Linked DNA regions of Homo sapiens: region 1 is linked to region 2. Evidence: promoter capture Hi-C in human tissues and cell types (Jung and others, 2019). All regions are on one chromosome and are shown on one strand. The core of a region is centred on a gene start or on the middle of the fragment in contact, and the rest is flanking DNA. Distances in the headings are between cores, read along the strand shown.

Region 1 (4,165 bases), core at 203-2,702, 570 kb before region 2:
ATTATACAAAAATACAGATATGGAAAAAAAGGAAATTTACAAGACCGATAATTGTATAACCAAGGAAATTCCCTTAGTCTGTGTTCATTCAGATTTCATATATAAATAAAATATATATAATATATTTCTATTTTTATAAAAATTAAGATTCTATTTTGTAACTAAACTTTTGTACTTACTACATTTTAACATCGATAGTTATTCACCTACATCATTTTTTTTCTACCCTCTCAACCCAGCTTTTCCTGACTCTGGGAAGAACTGGGAAGAGAAGGCCTCATTTTTAATGCAAAACACATTTTCCTTAAAAATTAACCAGTGCAAAACAAATTAACTAATACAGTGATTTTTTTTCCACTTATGAAATTTACATTTGTCATGAAACAATTTTGTATGTCACATGCCTGTTTGCCAGCTGAAGTTTACATGGTGGGAATGTTATTGAAACCTTTTAAAATTTATATCAGGTCTTTTTTTCCCCCTCTAATTCTGAGTTTTTGCTAGGATAGATCTTTCACCTCTTAGAAAATCACTCTATCTGATCTTTAAATCCGTGAGTTGGAATGAGAAATATTCCACTTGCTAAAATTTTCTTCAGCTTTTTAACTTTTTACAATCTCAACAGGTCAAAGGCAATTCTACTAGAATTGAAAGAAACTTTTTTTGGGTCATTGATAGAGAATGACATTAAGACTATAAATAAGTCATGCTGGAAATAAAAATTTACAATCAGGTCACAAATGTCAACACTTTATAAGAACTTGGGAAGTAAAAACCTCTTGTACTTGGCTTTACAGTGACTTAGGCACTGGAGGAAATGAAGATCAACACGATTTCGAAAGCAAAAGTTGCAGAGTGTTATGGTCTTACTCAAGTGCCTTGTAATAAATAGCTTGACGTGAAGGTTCACGTTTTCTCATTCAATCCAGCCCTTTAGGAATCTCGTAGACAGATAGTACTCTAAAGGGAAAGATTTGAATGTGTCACTGTGGCCCTGGCCCAGGCAAATCATTTTGAGCAGCTCCTGTCTGCTGTGCATTCTTCCAGGACACAAAGCCGGGGGGGAAGACATGGTCTGAGGCTCTCAAGGAAATAATGTGCTGCAAAGCCAAGCTCGTTAGTTCTTTATGAAGTGAGGGACAAAGATCTGTTCATTCAGCAGAGCCGTGGTATGTGCCTGTTAAATCGGGCACTGTGCAAGCCAATAGGGTGAAGATATACATATTAATGAGACACAGCCCTAATCTTTAGGAGCTCAAACTTTAGTTGTGGGAGAGACAGTCAAGTCCATTAAAATATACACAGTGCTAAGTGTTTAACAGTAGCCTTTGTTAAGGCTACAGAGCACAAAGGGAAAGAGTAACAAAGCGCCTGGGGGAGGTGGGAGAGCTTAGAGAGGAGGTAGCGTTCTGAGTTGGATCTTGAAGGCTGTGGTATTGAACCTCCAAAGCGGGGAGAGAGGCTCTCTCAGCGCAAAGACCAAGGTATTATAAAGTGCGTACAGTAGCAGCTACTTACTATGGCTGGATGATGATGATAATTTTATCTAATATTTATGTAATCCGTAGAATGTATCAGTTATGTCTTTTCCTATTTAATCTTCAGAAATAGAAACAGCCCAACAATTTAGGTAAGTATAGCCCCCATTATCCCTCATTTCCTTTTGGAGACAGGGTCTTGCCCTGTTGCCCAGGCTGGAGTGCAGTGGCACAATCATGGCTCACTGTAGCCTCGACCGCCTGGGCTCAAGTGATCCTTCCACCTCAGCTTCCCAAGTAGGTGGAACCAGAGGTGTGTGCCACCATGCCTGGCTGATTTTTTATTTATTTATTTGTTTGTTTTGTAGAGATGGGGTCTCACTCTGTTGCCCAGGCTGCTCTTAAACTCCTGGGCTCAAGCGATGCTCCCAAAGTGCTGAGATTCCAGGTGTGAGCCACTGCACCTGGCCCCTGTCCTGCATTTTACAGATGAAGAAAACAAGACACTGGTAGGTTAGGAACTTACCCCTCCCAACAAATGACAGAGCCAGGATTCAGACCCAGGTGATCTATGTGCTTATGTTTTTGACCATTATGTTTTATGCTTTCTTACTTTTCTGGAAGTGACAGGAATTTGCTAGAAGGGTAGGGCCAGAATCACATGTAGACTCCTAAGAACCTGGTATTGAATCATTGATATTTTGAAGCAAGGGCATAATTTGATCATGGTCATGTTTTAGAAAGAGAACCATGGCAGTGGTGTGTAGGAAAGAAAGAGATGGAGGGGAAGGAGGCTGGAGGCTGGAGGCTGGGAGGCCAGTTAGAAAGCAGTTACTACAGACCTACATGGAGTTTGGAGTTTGAAAGCAGACGGAGGGGGAATAAAGACGAGAGAACAAAAATGAGTAGTATTCAAGGGGAAGAAAATAGTATTAGTCGTATTGTGGGAAGTAAAGACAAGGGAGTCTAGGGTAATGTTTCTAGCTTGGCTGGCTGATGGAAGATGCTGCTATTTGCTGAAATAGGAAATTTAGAAGAATTTGTGAGATTATGATGTAACAAAGATAACAGATTCCATTTTAGATGTTTAGGGTGCTTTTAGATAATCCCGGTGGAAATTTTCAGTAAGTTTTTGGATGTACTGGACTGGCCTTCAGGAGAAATAGGCAAGCAAGAGAGAGACAGACTGAGATTATCAGTGTGCAGGTAGAAGTTGAAGCTCAGGAGTAGCTGAGATTAGTTAGGGCACGTGTAGAGTGAAAGGGGAGATTGGTGGTTAGAAGCTTAAGAAACAACAGGCTGGGAGTGGTGGTTCACACCTGCAATCCCAACACTTTGGGAGGCCCAGGTGGGAGGATCACTTGAGCCCAGAAGTTGAAGACCAGCCTGGGCAACATATGGAAACCCTGTCTCAAATATATATGTGTGTGTGTATATATATATACACACACACACACACACACACACACACATTTGAAAAAGAAAAAAAGAAACAACAAATAGGAAGGAGGAGAGAAAAAGAGGAGAAGGATACTTTAAAAACATACTCTCCTTAGTATTTAAAGTTAAATTAGAAATTTGCTTTGAAATAGTACAGCAACCCAGTAATTTTCAGCCCATAAGCTTTAATTGTATTTTTGAAAAACCTCCAGGAAGAATTCACTGAGTTCTAAGTAACGTAAGAGTAGCTGGGTCTCTGGAGTCTTACACAGTGTGTCAGTTAAATTTTGATTAACTAGTACCCCCCAGCAAATATGTGTCTCAAAATAGCTAATAACACACTAAGCTGTTAGAGTTACAGTCTGGCAGGCAGCTTGGGTTTATGTAGCAGAAAGTACCTCGGACTCAGAAGTCCCAAGTTCAAGTTCGGTTGTCACCACTAACCAGCTATAAGTGATAAAGTACAAGTCAAATAACCTTTCTGTTTCTCTTTTTCTTAACTGAATATGATAATGTGTACTTGCCACCTCACAAGGATGTTTCAAGTTCACATGAAATAATAAACATGAGACTGGGCACGGTGACTCACACCTGTAATCCCAACACTTTGGGAGGCTGAGGCGGGTGCATCACTTGAGGCCAGGAGTTCGAGATCAACGTGGCCAATATGGTGAAACCCTGTCTCTACTAAAAATACAAAAAAATTAGCCAGGTGTAGTGACACATACCTTTAGTCCCAGCTACTTAGGAGGCTGAGGCAGGAGAATCATTTGAACCCAGGAGGTGGAGGTTGCAGTGAGCCAAGATGGCATCACTGCACTCCAGCCTGGACGACAGAGCAAGACTCCATCTCAAAAACAAACAAAAAGAAATAATAAACTTGAAATATCTTGTAAGATAAAGCTTTTTAGGGCCAGGCACAGTGGCTCATGCCTGTAATCCCAGCACTTTGGGAGGCTGAGGCAGGCACATAACTTGAGCCCAGGAGTTCAAGACCAGCCTGGCCAACATGGCGAAACCCCATCTCTATTAAATTAAAAAATAATAAAAAATAAAAATAGGCCAGGCGCGGTGGCTCAAGCCTGTAATTCCAGCACTTTGGGAGGCTGAGGTGCGTGGATCATGAGGTCAGGAGTTTGAGACCAGTCTGGCCAACTTGGCGAAATTCTGTCTCTACTAAAAATACAAAATAGCCGGGCATGGTGGCACATGCCTATAATCCCAGCTACTCGGGAGGCTGAGGCAGG
Region 2 (4,352 bases), core at 503-3,002:
CAGAAGATAACTAGATTTAGAGTCCATCTATCTTATGGCAGAAGATAACTAGTGATGTGTCACAATAATCAGAAGAGCCTTGTAGGTAAGTAAGCTATATATGGACCCCACCTATATTTCTAGTAGATATTTCTAGAAATATATGGACCCCACATATATTTCTAGTAGTTCTGCCAGGTTGGTTATCACTTCCACTTATATTTATCAGTGTCACTCATGTATTGTCTTAACTACTTGTATTTTTTCGTATGTGTCTAAATGGAAAGCAACATAATGTTCACGGTTCTCTGAGAAACAACAAAATTCCTAATACCTAAAAATGGTAATAATAATAAAAAAAAGACAAGCAGGGTTTAGGAAATTTATTTTAGGGCAACTGCCTGATTTATTTTAAGCCCTATGCTTAAAAATAAGTCTAATTCACATGACTTAAAATGCTGGAGCCAAGAAAAGTCGCTGCAAAGGCATTTAATGAAATACCTGGTTTGTCTAGTTGTCTTTGTTATGATTTTTGTATAAACCAAGAACGTCCTATCTTGATATATATAGTGGATTTTATATCTAAATATTTCTTGTATTTAATAAATTGAAAATAGAAATAGACATTTTTTCAAACAGTGTAAGATTTTCCTAACCTCTGACTCACATCGTAAGGCTGGTGGACTGTTCAGATGCTGTACGATGCTTTTTACTCCGATGCTTTTTGGTTCATCTGTAGCATTTTCCATCATGGGGTAAAAGATCCACATTTTCTATTTCTAGTGATCCTTAATTTGGCTTCTGAGCAAAAATAAAGTTTGATGAGGAATAAATTAAGGTAGATTTCCTGCTGAAACCAGTGAAGAACATAACTTTATCAGCGGGGGTGAGTGACAAGTCTTTCACCTTTCCTCACACCACAGTCAACGAAGTAACGGAACTAGGAGAAATGCCCATTATTCTCATGTCCTACATTAGTTCTGATAAAAATCACAATTAAGTTTCACTGAATGTTTTGACATTGAAACGGCAGCATTACACGTCCAGGAGAGAACTACAGTAGGGGTGTTATGAGAACTAACACGAACGACTTAAAAATATTGATTTTTTTCTACGAGATTATTTTCCTTTAAAAAAATTAAATTGAGCTTGACTTCTATTGACTGTATCTTCCGGAGTCAGTATTTTATGGCTCCCCTGACACACACGCCTGGCGTGGGAGGGCTGAGCGCTGCAGCGCTTCGGAACTTTCCCAGTGAATCGTAAATGGGTTCAACGCCGGGGCTCGCGGAGGGCTGTCCATGGAGTACCACTGAAAACCAAACGCCACTGGTGCTCAATGCTGGTACCTGCCGACGAAAAGGCTTCTTGCCTAAAAAAGAACCTATTGCCCCACCCTAACAGCAACAAGGAGAACAAGCACTCTCTCCTCGTCAGAAGTCTCTGGACTGGCTGCAACCCAGAGGAAACAGAGCTGGGGCATCTGCCGGGACAGCGATCAGAAGCAGCCAGAGCTCCGCCTCCGTCCGGACCTCCAAGGCCGCTCCAGAGCCCTGCATGGCTCCTCAGAGCCGGCCAAGGCGAGAACCTTGCCGGCAGCTGCTTACCCGCACTCGGCTCCTCCCAGCGGTCCGCCTTCTCCACCGCCTGCCCGCAAGGCCCCGCCCACCTCACCGCCCCGCCCCACCCCACCCTGCGGAGGCGACAGAGTGCGCGCGCGCGCGCGGGGTCCCGGCTGGTTCCCCTTCCGAGCGTCCGCGCCCCGCATGCGCAGTCTGCCCCGGCGGTCTCCGTTTGTTTGAACAGGAAGGCGGACATATTAGTCCCTCTCAGCCCCCCTCGCCCCACCCCCCAGGCATTCGCCGCCGCGACTCGCCCTTTCCCCGGCTGGGACCGCAGCCCCTCCCAGAAGCTCCCCCATCAGCAGCCGCCGGGACCCAACTATCGTCTTCCTCTTCGCCCGCTCTCCAGCCTTTCCTCTGCTAAGTCTCCATCGGGCATCGACCTCGCCCTGCCCCACCGGACACCGTAGCAGCAGCCCCAGCAGCGACGGGACAAAATGGGAGAGTGAGGCTGTCCTGCGTGGACCAGCTCGTGGCCGAGACTGATCGGTGCGTCGGGCCGGGCCGAGTAGAGCCGGGGACGCGGGGCTAGACCGTCTACAGCGCCTCTGAGCGGAGCGGGCCCGGCCCGTGGCCCGAGCGGCGGCCGCAGCTGGCACAGCTCCTCACCCGCCCTTTGCTTTCGCCTTTCCTCTTCTCCCTCCCTTGTTGCCCGGAGGGAGTCTCCACCCTGCTTCTCTTTCTCTACCCGCTCCTGCCCATCTCGGGACGGGGACCCCTCCATGGCGACGGCGGCCGGGGCCCGCTAGACTGAAGCACCTCGCCGGAGCGACGAGGCTGGTGGCGACGGCGCTGTCGGCTGTCGTGAGGGGCTGCCGGGTGGGATGCGACTTTGGGCGTCCGAGCGGCTGTGGGTCGCTGTTGCCCCCGGCCCGGGGTCTGGAGAGCGGAGGTCCCCTCAGTGAGGGGAAGACGGGGGAACCGGGCGCACCTGGTGACCCTGAGGTTCCGGCTCCTCCGCCCCGCGGCTGCGAACCCACCGCGGAGGAAGTTGGTTGAAATTGCTTTCCGCTGCTGGTGCTGGTAAGAGGGCATTGTCACAGCAGCAGCAACATGTCGACTGGGGACAGTTTTGAGACTCGATTTGAAAAAATGGACAACCTGCTGCGGGATCCCAAATCGGAAGTGAATTCGGATTGTTTGCTGGTGAGTAGCGCTGTTCTCTTTTGCTTGTCTGGGGTTTTGCATGTCTTTCCTTCCTCTTGCATTAGTCTGGTTCGCTGCAAAAGTCTCAGGTGTGCATAATCGTCTTGGAAAATGCTAGATTTCTGTTTCCTGAAGAATCTTGGAGTACCATTAACATCTCATGGTGTGGTCCTATTTGCCATTTGACTGGCTCTGTACTAACTACTCTGAACTTTTAATTCTGACTCAGTTCATGAGTACCCGAAAGATACTTACAAACTGCTATTGCAGGCATCCTATAAAAAGTTATCACGTCAGAGTTACTGCAATGTATACAGTTTGTTGAATGGCGATCGTAGTAATTAATGTTAATCTTTCTGATCCGTTTGACAGTTAAATTGGAAAGACTACTTTGCATTTTTTTTCCTTTTTGCGATTTAGCTCCTAGGGGTTTAGTTTTTAGCCTTGAAAATGATAACGGAGAATTGCTATTGAGGAAGTGATTTTTGAGCCAAAATTTCATAGGTGATTTGAGTTTGAAGGAACTTTTTGCTAAACTATTGTAAAAAACCAAGATAATTGGTCATAGGTAATTACAGTGTTAACTTATTTTATTGTATTATTGGTTACAAAAGTACGTACCATACAGTTATTGTAACTGTCTTTTTGGTGGTGTGGCACTTAACATTGTCACTTGTAAAACATTCTAAAGAGGGTTTTATGACATGAAAAACCACAATCCCATTTTAAAAATAGTTAAGTGGTTGATAATACAGTTATCTGTAAATAATTGGAATTCTTAGGTTTGATACATTTCCTCTGTAAATGTATCAAAGTTGTTCAGAGTTTCTGAACAACTAAGGGTTATATAATATTTCTTGGTCCAAACAAAACCACATAATCTCTAAAATAAGGTTTCAGGGAGCATGTATATGGACAGGATTTCACAATGTCTTCGGTGAAATAATGTTAGATATGCTCAATTTTGGGGATTAAGATTAAGGAAACAAAATAATACCATTCAAAGAAATAATACAATTCAAAAATCGCATCTTGAATCAAAGGAAAATTAATGTAGATTGTTTAAAATTAACGTGCATTTCAGTTACTCTAAATTTCTGTTTATTTGTATTTTTCCACGTGTATGGGTTTTACAACAAGCTTCCCAAAGCTTTCAGAATTGTTGTAAGCATCCCTGACCAGGAAATAAGACTATTGTGGGTTGTTTGAAATGTCTCACCACATTATGGATGCTCTTTATATTGAGAGATAGTAAAGAAGGTTGATGCGTAATAGATTTTAAAACATTTTATTAAACGAGATAAGTGGAAGGAATTAGAATATATCTTGTAGTAAGGATTTCTATAACTTCTAAGAAGTCTGATTTATCTTTTAATATTTATCCAGTTTTCATATATTTTTGATTTTATTTTGCTTTTCGATCTCCTTATTACATGAGTGGTGTTATAGGGAGGGTTTAGTAGCTTTCTTTTTCTTTAAATCATCTTCTGGCCTCTTGCTATAGCTTCATTTGGTGGGGACCTTTATTTACATGTGGAGGATACAAGGAAATATAAGTCATGACTCTTTCCCTGAGAGTCCAATCTATTTAATGGAAGACAAAAC

The links. Contacts are between HindIII fragments. The study calls those that stand out against the background at their distance.
Region 1: a contact is called between a fragment that was not itself captured here and the fragment with the promoter of ROCK1 in region 2, in 1 of the 25 tissues and cell types used here (dorsolateral prefrontal cortex).

Annotation. Positions count from the first base shown.
Region 1 is chr18:21,679,638-21,683,802 of GRCh38, reverse strand. All of the region lies in intron 4 of ABHD3 (abhydrolase domain containing 3, phospholipase), which reads left to right. MIR320C1 (microRNA 320c-1) reads right to left here and starts at 285; the gene lies at 214-285. The HindIII fragment of the contact is 7,816 bases long and covers 1-4,165 here.
Region 2 is chr18:21,109,213-21,113,564 of GRCh38, reverse strand. It overlaps ROCK1 (Rho associated coiled-coil containing protein kinase 1), which reads left to right and starts at 1,752. Exons shown (of 33, transcript NM_005406.3): 1 at 1,752-2,747. The coding sequence starts at 2,655. RefSeq lists enhancers at 1,154-1,213, 1,244-1,463, 1,563-1,857, 1,511-2,099 and a silencer at 1,504-1,893. The HindIII fragment of the contact is 9,004 bases long and covers 1-4,352 here.